3 separate regions of the Homo sapiens genome follow, and regions 1 and 3 are each linked to region 2. Evidence: promoter capture Hi-C in human tissues and cell types (Jung and others, 2019). All regions are on one chromosome and are shown on one strand. The core of a region is centred on a gene start or on the middle of the fragment in contact, and the rest is flanking DNA. Distances in the headings are between cores, read along the strand shown.

The links. The method cuts DNA at HindIII sites, captures the fragments that hold promoters and counts their contacts. A contact is called where the count stands out against the background at its distance.
Region 1: a fragment that was not itself captured here is called in contact with the fragment with the promoter of TEX10 in region 2 in 1 of the 25 tissues and cell types used here (lymphoblastoid cells).
Region 3: a fragment that was not itself captured here is called in contact with the fragment with the promoter of TEX10 in region 2 in 1 of the 25 tissues and cell types used here (dorsolateral prefrontal cortex).

What each region holds. Positions count from the first base shown.
Region 1 is chr9:99,925,529-99,928,228 of GRCh38, reverse strand. All of the region lies in intron 2 of STX17 (syntaxin 17), which reads right to left. Among named protein-coding and RNA genes, the nearest start is that of STX17, 20 kb to the right of the region's middle. The HindIII fragment of the contact is 5,591 bases long and covers 1-2,700 here.
Region 2 is chr9:100,351,690-100,354,389 of GRCh38, reverse strand. TEX10 (testis expressed 10) reads left to right here and starts at 1,448. Exons shown (of 15, transcript NM_017746.4): 1 at 1,448-1,618. LOC105376177 (a long non-coding RNA gene) reads right to left here and starts at 1,340. Exons shown (of 4, transcript NR_188642.1): 1 at 809-1,340; 2 at 295-393. RefSeq lists enhancers at 1,121-1,755, 2,160-2,209 and a silencer at 1,270-1,819. The HindIII fragment of the contact is 15,352 bases long and covers 1-2,700 here.
Region 3 is chr9:100,710,669-100,713,368 of GRCh38, reverse strand. No RefSeq gene overlaps it. Among named protein-coding and RNA genes, the nearest start is that of CAVIN4, 130 kb to the right of the region's middle. The HindIII fragment of the contact is 5,997 bases long and covers 1-2,700 here.

The DNA.
Region 1 (2,700 bases), core at 54-2,553, 430 kb after region 2:
AATTAGGAACAGAATCATGGGAATTTTTTCATTTGATAGGAACCATAGGAATATGTGATATTATAGCAGAATATTTATATAGAATATAAACATCAACACCAAATATCATATGTTATTTTTATTGGAAATTAAAAAATCAAATAATTAAAATGTTAGCAGATGTGAATAGTTACATTAAACACATTTTTGATACTTTACACATTCCCAAAACATCAACTTAGAAATAATTTGAAAGGATAGAAACATAAAAATTCCCTCATATATGCATAGAAAACATACATTATAAGAGTAGAGCATTAAAAAAAATTTCTAGGGCATTTTTATATTCCTCGTTCTGCACATTCTTAAAATTTGGTAAAGAATGATGTAGCAAAAACTTCTTTTGATACTCCTAAAATTTTTACATAATCTAAGAACTAAACAATAACTATTAAGCTTAAAACAATTAGACCGGCCAGGCGCGGTGGCTCATGCCCATAATCCCAGCACTTTGGGAGGCTGGGGCAGGTGGATCACCTGAGGTCAGATGTTTGAGACCAGCCTGGCCAACATGGTGAAACCCCGTCTCTACTAAAAGTACAAAAAAATTATCTGGGCATGATGGCAGGTGCCTGTAATCCCAGCTACTTGTGAGGCAGAGGCAGGAGATCGCTTGAACCTGGGAGGTGGAGGTTGCAGTGAGCCAAGATCGTGCCACACTGCACTCCAGCCTGGGCAACAGAGTGAGACTCCTTCTCAAAAAATAAATAAATAAATAAAAATATTTTAAAAAATTAGACCATATTGAAAATGTATTTACCAAACATAAATTTAAAACCATTACCAAACCACTTTCATTTATAAGAAAAATTTAATTGATGCCATCAGATCCAGTGTGAAAGCTCTTTTAGGCAGTGTTATAACAGTAATAAAAGTTTGAGAAAGGAAGCCAGAGATTCATGTTTGAAAATAAACCACTTTTAAATTAATTGCCCACTACTAACCTGTTGCGATATTTTAAGAAAAATTAACACTAAGGAAACAGAGTTGAGAATGTGTAGATGCCAAGGCTATCAGAATTCATGGATCAGAGAATACCAGAGAGGAGAAGGCTGCATGGTGAAGGGCTAGTTGCACTGAGAGGAGAGGAATACACTGAGAGAGAACTCCAGAGATCTGCAGGGTTTTCCTTTTGAGTCTTCAACAAAGGACTCCTCCACACATGCATGTGAGGGAACAACCCGTGGTCAGAAAAAGAACAGGTAGAATAATTCCTGAAGATCACCCAAGGCTAGAAATGGTACATGTGACCACAAGTCAGAGTGGAAAAACCTTGGAATACACTGAGTATCAGGTAGAATACTCCAAAGTATTGCTCTCTGTAGGAAAAAATTAGCCCTGAACTAAAGGCTGTTCTGGTCCTAAGCAAGAAAGGTTAAAAGAAAGACTCAAGGCTGGGCGCAGTGGCTCACGCCTGTAATCCCAGCACTTTGGGAGGCTGAAGCGGGCGGATCACAAGGTCAGGATATCAAGACCATCCTGGCTAATATGGTGAAACCCCGTCTCTACTAAAAATACAAAAAAATTAGCCGGGTGTGGTGACAGGCACCTGTAGTCCCAGCTACTCAGGAGGCTGAGGCAGGAGAATGGCAGGAACCTAGGAGGCAGAGCTTGCAGTGAGCCCAGATTATGTCACTGCACTCCAGCCTGGGCAACAGAGCAAGACTCTGTCAAAAAAAAAAAAGAAAGACTCAAAAGGATCAAACTGTTCCCAACGAAACTGTGTTTCAGAATAAAGCTAAAAAATATTTAAATAAATTAAAAAATATTCAGTACCCAATAAAGTAAATTTCACAATGTCTGGTATCCAAAAGATAATTGCCATGCATGCAAAAAAGCAGAATAACATGATCTGCAATGAGAAAAACCAATCAACAGAAATAGACCCAGATATGATAGGGATAATGGAATTAATAAATGAGGATATTAAAAACAGTTATTATGATATGTTCCATGTATTTAAGAAGGTAGAAGAAAATATAAGCACATTAGAAGAAAAGCCATATAAGATATTTTAAAATATTAAATTAATAGAATTTAAAAAAAGAGTACCTGAAATTAAAAAATGCACTAGATGGGATTAATAGCAGATAAGACAATGCAGAAGAAAAGATTAGTAAACCTAAGGACACAGCAATAGAAACTATCCAAAATGAAACACACAGAGAAAAATAAGTTGAAAATAAATTAACCAAGATCAATAGTCATGGGCCAAATGAAAACAACATAAAATACATGTAACTGGACTCCATGAGAGAAAAATAATTTGAAAAACTTAACGCCAAAGATTTTCTACATTTGAGAAAAATGAGAAAACCATAGATCCAAGAAGCTCAAAGGACAAGAAAAATGAAGAAAGCTATACTAATGCACATTACAGTAAAATTACTTAAAATAAATAAAGAAAAACATCTTAAAAACGGGAAGAAAAAAGACACATGAAATACGAAGAAACAAAGATAAGAATGACAGAAGACTTCTTGTGAGAAACAATCCAAGCCAGAAGACAGTGGGACAACATCTTGGAAGTATTCGAAAATGACAGAAAATGCAACCTAGAATTCTATCCCCAGAGAAAGTTGTTTTTTAAATAAGGCAAAATAAAGATATTTTTAAACATTAAAAAGCTGATAGAATCCATCACCAGCAGAAAGGTGTGCT
Region 2 (2,700 bases), core at 199-2,698:
GATCTGATCTAACCTAGATCTTAAAATAATCACACAGCTGCTCTGCTGATACCAGACTGTAGGGGGAAGAAGGACAATAAGGGAAGCAGGAAGATGTGTTTGCAGGCTTTTTGCAGTGATCAAGAAGCGGCTTGGACCAGAATGGTAGCAGGGGAGGTGTGTTAACTGGTGAAAGTTAGGATGTCTTTAAAGGTAGAGTCAATCTCCAGATGGATTAGATGTGAGGTGTGGAACAAAGAGGCCAAACCAAAAACCCAAAGGTTTCTGCTTGAGTAACTGCAAGGACAGACTTACTATTTGAGATGAATAAGCTGTAGGAAGAGTAGATTTCAAGGGGAAAATCATCAGTAGCTCTGTTTTGGACAAGTTGACCTTGAGATGTATACTGGATATCTGAAGGAAACATTGAAAAAACTGTTGGATACAAGTTTGGAGTTCCAGGGACTTGTCTGGTTGGCAATAAATCTTTCCTCTTCTGATCTAGTCTCATAGCTTTAAACAGAATATAATGCCACATAATGCCAATGACTCCCAAATATTTATGGTTATGGTCGATTCCAGGCAGATTGTGGTGATGTGGCCATATTGCCAGCAAAGGGAGGTCAGGGTTTCTAGCGCTGCCTCTTTATCTCCGATTATGGAACAGGCATGGTTTTAGTTCCAGTGCTTGGGTCTCCCTGGATTTAGACATCATTCCTTTGAATTCCCACCCAATATAATGAGGGTCAATATCTTCGCTAGCTTTACTAAGTCTTAATTATCTGGTGAGGTGTAGACACAAATTTGAATCAAGGTCTGAAGTCCTTACCTGGGGCTCTTTCTTCCATGCCATCATGCCAGTCTTTGTGAAGACATTTTTCAAAGGCTCATTCTTCTTACCTCTTTTCTAGGAATTTTAGTTTATTTCTTTACTTAACTTCAGAAATTAATTTCTCACTTCATTTTAGTAGCAGGAATGTTAGTGCTGAGAAACTGAGATGTTAGGGAGAATCCTTGACCAAGACTTCCAGGCTCTAGATACTAGGTGTGTCTTGCTCTAATTAAGGAAATCTTATCTGCTCCATCTTAGCCCAGTTTAACGTCCCCAGGAATTCCATCTTCTGCAGTCCTAAACTTTTCCCTTTTTCAATTCAGTGCAACTTATACTCTTCTCTGAAAGTGGCTCCAGGTCTGAAGAACTGTGGTCTGGGAGGAATAGAAAAGCATGCTCAGCTATAACCAGGCCCACATCCCCTAAGTTGCCTGCCCACCAAGTTACGGGCCGGACTTATGCGCCACGCTTTGTCCGGGGACCTCGCGCTGTCCTCCCTCCGGTTCCCACAGAGCAGGGGGCTTCCGGCGGGGTACCCTCCTCTGTGGGCGGGGCCTACCGCTCCCGCTCCCGCCTCCCCGGTTGCGCGCGGCTGCGGGCTGCGATCACGTGAGCACAGCAGGGAGGGGGAGGGGCCCTGATTTCCGGGCGGCGGAAGGAGACGCGGCCGCGTGAGGACGAGGCTATTTGAAAACACGCTCCGGGAGCTAGAGCCTGAGGTCGGCGGCGCACGCTGTTGCCCCGTGGGCTTCTGCTCCCTCGCTTGTCTTCTCGGGCTTCTCGCCCCGGCCGCGGCCGGGTCCTCAGGTAAGCGGCCGTCGCCCGTCGGGCCGGGTCCTCCCGGGGCGCGGGACTGAGCGTGGTGGGGCCGTCGCCCCCCGATCCGCGGCCCAAGCGGGCAGGGTCGGCCGTGCACGATTTGCGTCCCCCGGGTCTGGGCCGCGGCGTCCCTCCGAGCTGGGCCTGGGTGTGCGGCCGGCACTGCGGGGGCGGGACCCCCTAGGGCGTTTGCGGAGCTTCAGGTGACTGGGCGGGTTCGCCTGGTTTCGGGTCCGAGAGAGTTTTAGCCCGGAGTGTGTGAATCGGGCCCCACTTCCCCGACTCTGGTCCTGGCCGGCGTCCCTTGGAGTAGGAGGAACGATGGTTTCCTAAAACCCATGGTGTGTTCGCCTCTGGGATGGATGCAGGACCGAATACGGAGTGGGGATGAGCTGGCGTCCCCTGTTCCGTCCTCTGGTCGCCCAGGCGGGAGAGTTAAGCGAGCGGAAGGGGACTACCAGTTTTCTGGGGTCGCCCCTGCCTGGGCCATTTGCTTTTTGGGAAGTCTGTCGCCTCTGGTTGGCCCCTCAGTGGAGTTTGGAGGAACTCATGAGTTTAAGGGTTTGGGGAGGAAATTATCAAAGGCCGAGTGCAGTACGATCGTTCTCTCTGATTTTTTTTGGAAAAGAAGGTGGAAATGAGGAAGGGTAAGAAGGTGGCAGGCAAACTATTTATAGTTGGAATTTAGTTCGATTGAAATCCTAAAAACGCTAGGATCTGCCTTTTGTTGGAATTAGAAAAGACCTACAGTAGGAATGTGTGACATTCAGCTTTGAAACTATTGGGGATCGCAAACCTAAGGACTAGTGATGTGAGCTCCTCCTCTGAGACTGGCGTTCCTACCTTTTGCTAAAAACCGGCTACTGTAAAAGTGGCTTAGTGGGACTTTTTGATTTGCTGTGTTATGAAAATCTTTGTTATAAGTTAAAGTCAATTACTAGTAGAACTTTGAGAGTTCTTCGCATGAAAATGCTTTGTATCCCGTAATAATATTACTAGGTTTGAAAAGTCAAGGAAGGTCAATCAGCCTTCTTAATTTTCCTAACAGAGAAAGCATTAATGTGACTAAT
Region 3 (2,700 bases), core at 135-2,634, 360 kb before region 2:
ATAAATTGGTACCAGTAGAGTGGGACACTGCTGAAAAGATACCCAAAAATGTGGAAGCAACCTTGAAACTAAGTAACAGGCAGAGGTTGGAACAGTTTGGAGGGCTCAGAAGAAGAGGAAAATGTGAGAAAGTTTGGAACTCCCTAGAGACTTGTTGAATGGCTTTTACCAAAATGCTGATAATGATATGGACAATGAAATTTAGGCTGAGGTGGTGTCAGATGGAGATGAGGAACTTATTGGGAACTGGAGCAAAGGTGACTCTTGTTATTTTTTAGCAAAAAGACTGGCAGCATTTTGCCCCTGCCCTAGAGATTTGTGGAGCTTTGAACTTGAGAGAGATGATTTAGGGTATATGGTGGAAGAAATTTCTAAGCAACAAAGCATTCAAGAGGAAAGTTGGACGCTGTTAAAGGCATTCAGTTTCAAAAGGGAAACAGAGCATAAAAGTTTAGAAAATTTGCAGCCTGACAATGCAATAGAAAAGAAAATCCCATTTTCTGAGGAAAAATTCAAGTGAGCTGCAGAAATTTGCATAAGTAATGAGGAGCCAAACGTTAATCACCAAGACAATGGGGAAACTATCTCCAACTGTCAGAGACCTTTGCAGCAGCCCCTCCCACCACAGGCCCAGAGGCCTAGGAGGAAAAAGTGGTTTCGGGGGCCAGGCCCAAGGTCCCCATGCTGTGTGCAGCCTAGGCACTTCGTGCCCTGTGTCCCAGCTGCCCCAGCCATGGCTGAAATGGGCCAACATAGAGCTCAGGCCGTGGCTTCAGAGGGTGGAAGCCCCAAGCTTTGGCAGCTTCCACATGGTGTTGAGCCTGCAGGTGCACAGAAATCAAGCATTGAGGTTTAGGAACCTCCACCTAGATTTCAGAGGATGTATGGAAATGCCTGGATGCCCAGGCAGAAGTTTGCTGCAGGGGTGGGGCCCTCATGGAGAACCTCTGCTAGGGCAGTATGGAAGGGAAATGTGGGGTTGGAGCCCCCCCACAGAGTCACTACTGGGATACCACTTAGTGGAGCTGTGAGAAGACGGCCACCATCCTCCAGACCCCAGAATGATAGATCCACCAACAGTTTGCACTGTGCTCCCAGAATGGTAGATCCACCAAAAGTTTGCACTGTGCACCTGGAAAAGATTCAGACACTCAACATCAGTCCATGAAAGCAGCCAGGAGGGAGGCTGTACCCTGCAAAGCACAGGGGCAGAGCTCCCCAAGACCATGGGAATCCACCTCTTGCATCAGCGGACCTGGATGTGAGACATGGAATCAAAGGTGATCACTTTGAGCTTTAAGATTTGACTGCTCTACTGGATTTCAGACTTGCCTGGGGCCTTTAGCCCCTTTGTTTCAGCCAATTTCTCCCATTTGGAATGGCTGTATTTACCCAATGCCTGTATCCCCATTGTATCTAGGAAGGAACTAACTTGCTTTTGATTTTACAGGGTCATAGGAGGAAGGGACTTGCCTTGTCTCAGATGAGACTTTGGCTGTGGACTTTTGAGTTAATGCTGAAATGAGTTGAGAGTTTGGGGGACTGTTGGGAAGGCATAATTGGTTTTGAAATGTGCAGATATGAGATTTTACAGGGGCCGGGCAGAACAATATGGTTTAGCCCTGTGTCCCCACACAAATCTCACCTTGGAGCTTCCATAATTCCCACATATTGTGGGAAGGAACCCAGTGAGAGATGATTGAATCATGAGGGCAGGTCTCTCCTGTGCTGTCCTTGTGATAGTGAATGGGTCACATGAGATCTGATGGTTTTAAAAACGGGAGTTTTTCTGCACAAGCTCTCATTTTGCCGCTGCCATCTATGTAAGATGTGACTTGCTCCTCCTTGCCTTCCACCACGATTGTGAGGCCTCCCCAGCCATGTGAAACTGTAAGTCCAATGAAACTATTTCTTTTGTAAATTCCCCAGTCTCAGGTATGTCTTTATCAGCAGCATGAAAATGGACTGATGCAAGGAGGCAACTTGTTCAAGAACTCACACGGTGTATTTGGCAAGTAAATGTAGGAGGATTTAAAGTCTTAAAACTGGAATAAATTTTTATTAGCATAAATCTAAAATAACATTGGCACAAAAAGTTTCCAGGTGACAGCTGGAGAAGAATTTTGTGAAACTCATCATTGTTCAAAAGCATTAGTGTGCAAAGATAAATTAATAATAATGGGAAAGACCAATTATTCATTGAATCTAGAATGAAATGAGGAGAAAAATATTATCTCTTTACAAATCTGGCCCAGTACTTTCACTATAAATTAAAATCGGTGATAAATCGCAAATAAATTGGATAGACATCTGCAGCAGAAATTAAATTACCAAATAAAAACTACACATTTGGGGAGTTTTATGAACATGGAAAGCTTTAAGAGAGATGGCTTTCTTTGTGGATTGTTTAATGGAGTCATTTCTTATTTAAAATGTTTTAAAGAATAAATGTAATGCCTTTTGAATATTGAGAGTTTTCTAAGAACTAGACTATAAGGAAGGTGTCTCCAGCACTTTCTCCAGGCTTTGTTGATCTCACAGTATCAGATACATAAGGACACAGTGATACACAGATGTAATGCCTAAATATAAATTTAATACATTGCAGTTACAAGTCCAACTTGTGACTTTGGCTTATGACAAATCACAGTTTAGTTATATTTATGAAAATCATGAAATCAGAGTGGAAAGGAAGACCTT